Linked DNA regions of Homo sapiens: region 2 is linked to region 1. Evidence: promoter capture Hi-C in human tissues and cell types (Jung and others, 2019). All regions are on one chromosome and are shown on one strand. Each heading gives the region's core, a stretch centred on a gene start or on the middle of the fragment in contact. The rest is flanking DNA. Distances are from core to core; before and after follow the strand shown.

Region 1 (3,897 bases), core at 590-3,089:
GCCGGAAAAGTGAAGCATAGCAGGAAAAAGGAGTCAACAGTAAAGAAAAATTTTCCCCAAAAGGGGCTTCTCTCAGTTAAGAACACTTCTGAACTGTACTCACTGAATGTGAAGACCCAAAGAGAAAACAGTCTCTGTCTGTGTCTTTTCCTTAATGTCGCTCAGAGCCAGACCTCTACTCACCTGGTGAGGACCTGGGTCAGTCTCCTGGTATTTGGACATGATCTGAGAGGAGTGAGTCAGGTAAAGGAACCTTCTGGACCACAGACAACAGCCAGGCTCAGCAGGGATCACTGAGGTAGGAATCCCCCCACCCAAACCCCTAAAAAAGAGCCAACAGTTATTAAAAACATGGGACTAGAGTGGGGCAGACTGGGTTTATGGTCCTGTTACAACAGTGGTGATGCTAACAGTTAAAAGACCATAGAAGCTTGTTTCAAATTAATTGGCCTGTAGAGTAGGAAAAAAAAAAAATGACTCTACTAATGATCCTAGGCAATTCTGTCTTCTAGGTTACAGCAAGCAGCCCCCAGAATGGCCTTTATTGAAGCCTGAGTGACAAGAAGCCTGTAGCGGGGTGAGGGGGACCCGCTTGGAAAAAGGCCCCAAAAGAGGAGCTCTTCCTAACTCTCCAATGACATGGGAAAATTTTACTCACACAAAATTCCCTGGAAACCCAGCCACCTCCCGCTCCAAGAGAAGGCCTAGAGATGCAGTGGCCAGAGACAGCCTCAGGCCTTCTTCCCCATGCTGGGGGTGCTGCTGCTTGCCTTCACCCCGACCCGGTATCCCCACTTCCCGCTGCCCCAGATCTCCCAGGCTGAATGTCCCCTCTTCGCCTCCACTCTTCTGAGCTTCTAAGAGCTAACTCCAAGTGAGGAACTGAACCCCTTCCACCCCTACCTCCCCAGGCAATCTGTAGAGCTCTTGAGCCCTAATACCAGTGTCTGGGAGGCGCGTAAACGCTTCCATTTTTATCCTTCCACTGCAGAAAATGCCCAGTTTAGTCTGGGAGACACTCAGACCCCTCGGGACAAGGGTGGCTAGAGAGAGGTCCAAGCTGCCCTGGGTGGGTGGGGAGTCAAGGCAGGCCAAAGCTTCAGATTTAGACAGTAACCACCAAATCCGACCTGGGCTGCAGGTCCAAGGCCTCTTCCTCTTTCCTGCATGCTCCGCTCTGCCGCTGGCCCATCTTCCAATGCAACCCCTACAACTACCAAAGCAAAAAGGCCTGTCCCAACTCCATCCTCACGGCCCGATCCCCAACCCTCAGGGGATGCCGCTTCGTGTCTCCTCTTTATTTTACAACGCGGCCCTCCTTGCAGCCCTCACGAAAAGTTCTGCAGTGGGGTCCCCCAGCGTGGGGCCCTTCTCGAGACCCTTAAAGAGAAGGCTCGTTTGGTGGACCATACCCGGGCAGCGCGGGCCCGGGCCTGGACTGGTTCTACTTGTGTTCTGAGGTCCCTGACCACCGCCTTGGGTCCAGCCCTCGTCCAGGGGGCGGCGGTGCAGGGGAGACCGCGCGGCCCGGCCTGAAGCGCGGCCGCCCTCATCCCTTCCCCGGGGCTGGGGTGGGTCACCGGCCGACAAACACAGGAGGGGCCGCGTCCCCGTCCCCGACGCGCTCACAAACGCCGTGGTCGCCCGAACCTTCGGCCCCGCAGCATTCGGCTACAGGACCGCGACACTGCAGGGCCCCGGCTCTGCGCGCTGCGCTCCGGCCGCTCGGCGCGGGAGGACGTGCGGTCGCGCCTGCCTCGGTGGCCGCGCGGGGTAGGTGGCTGCGGGGACCGGAAGGATGGCGAGGAAGTCGGAAAGGGTTTCCTGAGATGAGAGATTACTTCCGTCCGGGCTGCGGCCTCTCTCTGGAGTCGGCTAGCCGGGGCTCGGGGAGCGGGGTGCGCAGGGCTCGGGGCCACGCCTTGCCACCTGCAGCGCCCGGGTGGGCCGCGGGGGCCTCGGCGGGACGCGCTCGGCCCTGTCGCAGGAGCTAACGCAGGGGGAATCCTTGCAGGTGGGAGCATTTCAGAGCGCACAAGCCATGGTGGCCAAACAGCGGATCCGGATGGCTAACGAGAAGCACAGCAAAAACATCACCCAGAGGGGGAACGTAGCCAAAACCCTGGTAAGGCGGGGTCGGCGCCGGCCAGGCAGAGCCCTGCAGCCCGGCGGGGTGGGGCGGAAGGTGGGGGCGGGGCCGGGCGGGTAGCGGCGCAGGGTCCGGCCTCCCGGCTCCCGGCCCGCCCCTTCTGCGGGGTCCTGCAGAGTGGGGGCTGAGAGCTGGGTTCAGGGCGGCGCGGTCTGCTTGGCGTCCTCGTGGGCGGAGAGGGCCCTGGTTGGTCGTGGCCCCTCTGGGAGTGGCTACCTGGGCTACCAGGGAGGCGCAGAGGAGCCCTCCTCCCCGACCCGCACCCCCTGTCCCCCTGCCCGGGAGACAGCTGGGCCTTGTCCCGGAGAAAGACGGAAAGCCTCATCCTTAGGGGCCAGTTAAGTCAACTGCATGACACAGAGCCTGGAACCTAGTATGTTCTAGAACGTTGCATGACACAGAGCCTGGAACCTAGTATGTTCTAGAACGTTTGTTGAATGAATGAATGAATCAATGGCTAAATGGAGGCCACTTGTCATCTCCTCCCGGACTCCACCTGTCTTCCCTCCCCAACAGACTTGCACCAGGATCAAGTTTTCTTTCCAGCCCCTTTGTGACGGTTTCACTGGAGGTGTGGAAAGAGCTCAAAATGGGGAGTGAGATTTGGACCCACATTCCCTCCAGCCTCTTTTTTCTCTTTTACCTCTCTTCCAGCGAGACCTCCCTCAGCCCCTAGGCTAAAGTCTAAGGGCAGCATTCCTATTCTTTCCACTTGGTGAATTCAGACTCATTCTCATGGTATAACTTTAGAGACCAGTTTATTGTCAGGCATTCGGTGTCCCTAGAACTGTAAATTCAAGCTTTGCAACTGGACTTTTAAGTAAAACCTGTGCCTTACACTCAGGAGTTTCTTTTAGCAAAGCAGATTATCATCAACAGAAAATGCGAGGCCTGTGACTTTGGACATTCAGAGGCATGAGTCGCATGGGTAGTTTGGCGAAGTTGGTCTCCAAGTATATGAGCAAAGGCGCCTGGGATCTGTTACCCCGTACAGTTAAGTGGAAATCCAGCTGAAGCCTGGAGTTTGGCTGGGAAAGCTTGCAGATTTGATGAATCAATTCCTTTTAGCCAAAGAAACTATATTGGTTTGATTAACTAAGCAAAAAGCTAGATCTGTAATCATCACACCAGAATTCTTGCAAAACCAAGCAGTATTACGGCAGAGAAACTCTAGGACCAAACTCAACTCTACTCAGAGCTTTATACACAAGTCTAAGCATAACTCAACTCTACTCAGAGCTTTATACACAAGACCTAAGTAATCCTTAAAATTCTCTCATTTAGGAATTATATCACTCAGTTGTGATTAGGCAGCAAAATGCCAAGATGCCATCAAATTGGAACCATTTTGTCACATTGATTTATGTTTTCCCTATTTTTACTGAGGAAAAAAAAATGGCTGCCCGGGTTGACATTGAGAAGCAACTTATAATTGATGTTAAGGCATGCAGGGTTTTATATCCCTAAGAGATCAATTCTTCCTTCTCAAGGGATCAGACCTGCTAACTGACACAGTGAAAAATAACTAGTCATGTGGCTCTTTTTCATGAACTAAAAAACCGGAGTTCAGTTGTCAGATCTCAGTTGACAGCTTATCTGATTACAAAAGTAAGAAGAAAACAAGAACTAATTTCTAAGGCTGTTGTATCTATTAGGTTCTGTAGACTCAGTGTCTGCCACCTCAAGTTCTTCAAGAAAACTAGAAAATGTTTGGGACCCAAAACAAAAATTATTAGCTCCAAAATAAA
Region 2 (3,897 bases), core at 574-3,073, 1.3 Mb before region 1:
TTCTCTTAAGATATATATTTATAAAGTTTTATCCCATAGAACTGAAAGCTGTATAAAATTCACTTGGAAAATTCAGTGATTAAGAGCACAGACTCTGGTATCAAGTATATATGCGTACAAATACCAGTTTAACACCTATTAAATGGGTGACCCCAGTTTAATCATCTGTAAAATAGAGATAATAGATTAGTTTTAACTGCATAAAGTTGCCGTGAAGATTAAATTATATAATATATGTGAATTTCTTTTTTTGGAAGTTTTTTTCTTTTTTAAACTTTTAGGTTCAGGGTTACACGTGCAGGTTTATTATAAAGATAAACTTGTGTCACAGGGGTTTGTTGTATAGATTATTTTGTCACCCAAGTACTAAGCCTAGTACCCAATAGTTATTTTTTCTGCTCCTCTCTTACCTCCTACCCTCCACCCTCAGGTAGGCCTCAGTGTCTGTTTTTCCCCTCTTACTATTTAGCTCCCACATGTAAGTGAGAACATGTGATATTTGGTTTTCTGTTTCTGCATTAGTTTGCTGAGGATAATGGCTTCCAGTTCATCCATGTTTCTGCAAAGCCCACGATCTCATTACTTTTTGTGGCTGCGTAGTATTCCATGGTGTTTATGTACCACATTTTCTTTATCCTGTCTACCACTGATGGGCATTTAGGTTGATTCCATATGTTTGCTGTTGTAAATATTGCCACAGTGAACATATGTCTGCAACACATGGTACTTACTAACTACTCAATAAATAGCAGCCAAGCAAAGCAGATTATTGCCCTGAGTCTGTCGCTTAGGCGCTGCCCTGTATGATCTTGGTCAAGCTTTTTTGTTTTGTTTTGTTTTTAGCTTTTCTATACTTTGGCTTCTTCATTTTTGAATTGAGAGTAATAATATTCTGCCTTGTTGGAATAATATAAGAATGATATGATGATACCTTTTTACATAATACCTACCAAATATCAGGTGCTGAAAAAAATTTGGCTCCTGTTTCTTTCCATGTCTGTCACGAACGCAGAAGCTAGATATTTGTCCTAACACATTAAGTGGAAAGGTAAATGAAACTTATCTGCTTTCCTCTAGCCCTTTCTTTTCAGTCAGGCAATGTTGATTATGACAAGATAATTTTAAGATGTGAGTATATTCATTGAATCTCAGCTGTGTAGACTATATAACAGGTAGGTGAAGGCAAAATGGAGCCGATCCTTTTGATAACCTATTTTAAAAATACTGTATGTGTTCTAGATGATACTATACATTCTGACATATTGCATATGAGAATTGTTTATTGAAATGTGTATTTGAGTCTTTGCCTTATGTTTTTCCTTGCAAGAGAATAGTGTCCTGCAATATGACTCATGTCTGTAACAAAAAGCCTGAATTATTTTACAAAGCTGCCCAGGAAAATTGTTTTTATACCTGGTATAGTAAGTCCTCACTTAATATCACCCATGGGTTCTTGTAAACTGTGACTTTAAACAAAATGACTATAATGAAACCAATTTTTTAAATCAATGAAAGGATGTTGAAGGAAATGACATTATTCAGGGACCTGCCATACATCATTTTGCTTAAAATCACAGTTTTTAAGAACCTATCAACAGTATTGTGTATTATATGAAATGATGCACATTTATGATTTTTTTTTTTGAGACAGAGTCTTGCTCTGTTGCCCAGGCTGGAGTACAGTGGCACGATCTCCCCTCACTGCAAGCTGCGCCTCCCAGGTTCACGCCATTCTCCTGCCTCAGCCTCCCAAGTAGCTGGGACTACAGGCGCCCACCACCACGCCTGGCTAATTTTTTGTATTTTTAGTAGAGACGGGGTTTCACCGTGTTAGCAGGATGGTCTCGATCTCCTGACTTTGTGATCCGCCTGCCTCAGCCTCTCAAAGTGCTGGGATTACAAGCAGAAGCCACCATGCCTGGCACATTTATGATTTTTAAGCTTTCTAAAAACTTTTGTAGAATTCTGTTTATAAACTATATTAGTCCATTCTCAAGCTGCTATGAAGAAATACCCAAGACTGGGTAATTTATAAGGAAAAAGAGGTTTAATGGACTCACAGTTCCACATAGCTGGGGAGGCCTCAATAATGGCAGAAGGCAAAGGAGGAGCAAAGGCACATCTTACATAGTGGCAGCAGGCAAGAGAGCATGTGTAGGGGAATTGCCCTTTATAAAACCATCAGATCTCATGAGACTTAGTCACTATCATGAGAACAGCACAGGAAAACCCGCCCCCATCATTCAGTTACCTCCCACCGGTTCCCCTCCCATGACATGAGGGGATTATGGGAGCTATAATTCAAGATAAGATTTGGGTGGAGACAGAGCCAAACCATATCACTATATGTTACTCAAAAGCTCAGTAGTAGAAAAAAAAAAAGATGAAACCAAAACTGCTCCATTTGCCAGAAGGTCCAAGAACACCACTCCACATACCCCCACTGCCAGCCAGATGCATTCTAGGGAGGTGTTTGAAATCTCTGGTCTAGGTACCATCATATTTAAAGTTATACTGGAGGTATATCATCATAGCTACATTTAGTTTTTATACTAAGCTTAAAAACTAGGCTTCTCTCATGTTGTTTAATCTTTACAGCAACAAACATGTATTAATATTAAAATGTATTAAGGTCCAAGAGACTTAATATAATAATAACTAAAAGGAAATAAACACTGCCAGCAAAGCAGAATAGGTCTCATTTCCAGAGCTCACCATTAGGAGTCTGATCATTATTATCTTAAAGGCAGAGTGTTTTGAATGCCATACTTGTGCATATGAACTTTCCTTCCTTGTGTTTACTTTAGTTCAGTGGTTGGTGGACCTCAGTATGCATAATGCGTTGTGGAGTTTTATGTACAAAACTATGTGGAACTGATTTTCAGAGCATTGTAATTAATTATCAAGGAAATTTTGACGGAGTAATTTTCAGATTTTGTATTATGTGCTCAACTAAAACTTAATATCTAGAATAAAATGGACCTTGCCATATATCTTCTAAAAAAATACAATGGTTCAGCAGAACATTCACCTATATATATATATATACACACATATATGTGCGTATGCGTATATGTGTGTATATATATGTGTGTGTGTGTATATATATATGAAATTTGGATTTTACTGAACTTATCTCATTATTTAGAGGGCCACATGGTGATGAAATTTATGAAATAGGTTTTTAAAGCTCCCCCTTTTTTACTTTAAAATTATTTGCATAGTAATCCTTTATAATATTAGTATTTACTAATATGGAGTATTTGTTATTTTAAGGAGTTTACCTTTTTACAGTCATTTTTGGAGGGTGATGTAAAATGCATTAAGCACTTGTACGATATATAATCCTAATTTCTTTTTTTTGTTTTTTTTTGAGACGGAGTCTTGCTCTGTCACCCAGGCTGGAGTGCAGTGGCGCTATCTTGGCTCACTGCAAGCTCCGCCTCCTGGGTTCATGCCATTTTCCTGCCTCAGCCTCCCGAGTAGCTGGGACCACAGGCGCCCGCCACCACGCCTGGCTAATTTTTTGTAGTTTTAGTAGAGACAGGGTTTCACCATGTTAGCCAGGATGGTCTCGATCTCCTGACCTTGTGATCTGCCCGCCTCAGCCTCCCAAAGTGCTGGGATTACAGGCGTGAGCTACTGCCCCCGGCCTACAATCCTAATTTCTATTTTAAGATACAAATCATAGTTTCAGCCCTAAAGTTATTTAGAATCTACCTAACACAACATGCCAAATACATACAGAACAGCTAGAAAACATAAGTAATAAAGGCAAGATGTGCCACAGAGCACCTGTGTAGCAAAAAAAGGAGTTGATAAATGTAGATTAGCCACAGAAATCGAAATCATTGAGCTGTAATTTTTCAGTGTAATTTTTTTTGTTTCTTAATAGGC

Evidence for each region. Contacts are between HindIII fragments. The study calls those that stand out against the background at their distance.
Region 2: a fragment that was not itself captured here is called in contact with the fragment with the promoter of SERP2 in region 1 in 1 of the 25 tissues and cell types used here (dorsolateral prefrontal cortex).

Annotation. Positions count from the first base shown.
Region 1 is chr13:44,371,985-44,375,881 of GRCh38, forward strand. It overlaps SERP2 (stress associated endoplasmic reticulum protein family member 2), which reads left to right and starts at 1,840. Exons shown (of 3, transcript NM_001010897.3): 1 at 1,840-2,125. The coding sequence starts at 2,042. It overlaps LOC105370297 (a long non-coding RNA gene), which reads right to left and starts at 1,582. Exons shown (of 2, transcript XR_001749858.3): 1 at 1,413-1,582; 2 at 1-1,213. The HindIII fragment of the contact is 4,304 bases long and covers 764-3,897 here.
Region 2 is chr13:43,079,813-43,083,709 of GRCh38, forward strand. All of the region lies in intron 4 of DNAJC15 (DnaJ heat shock protein family (Hsp40) member C15), which reads left to right. Among named protein-coding and RNA genes, the nearest start is that of LINC00400, 31 kb to the right of the region's middle. The HindIII fragment of the contact is 3,912 bases long and covers 1-3,779 here.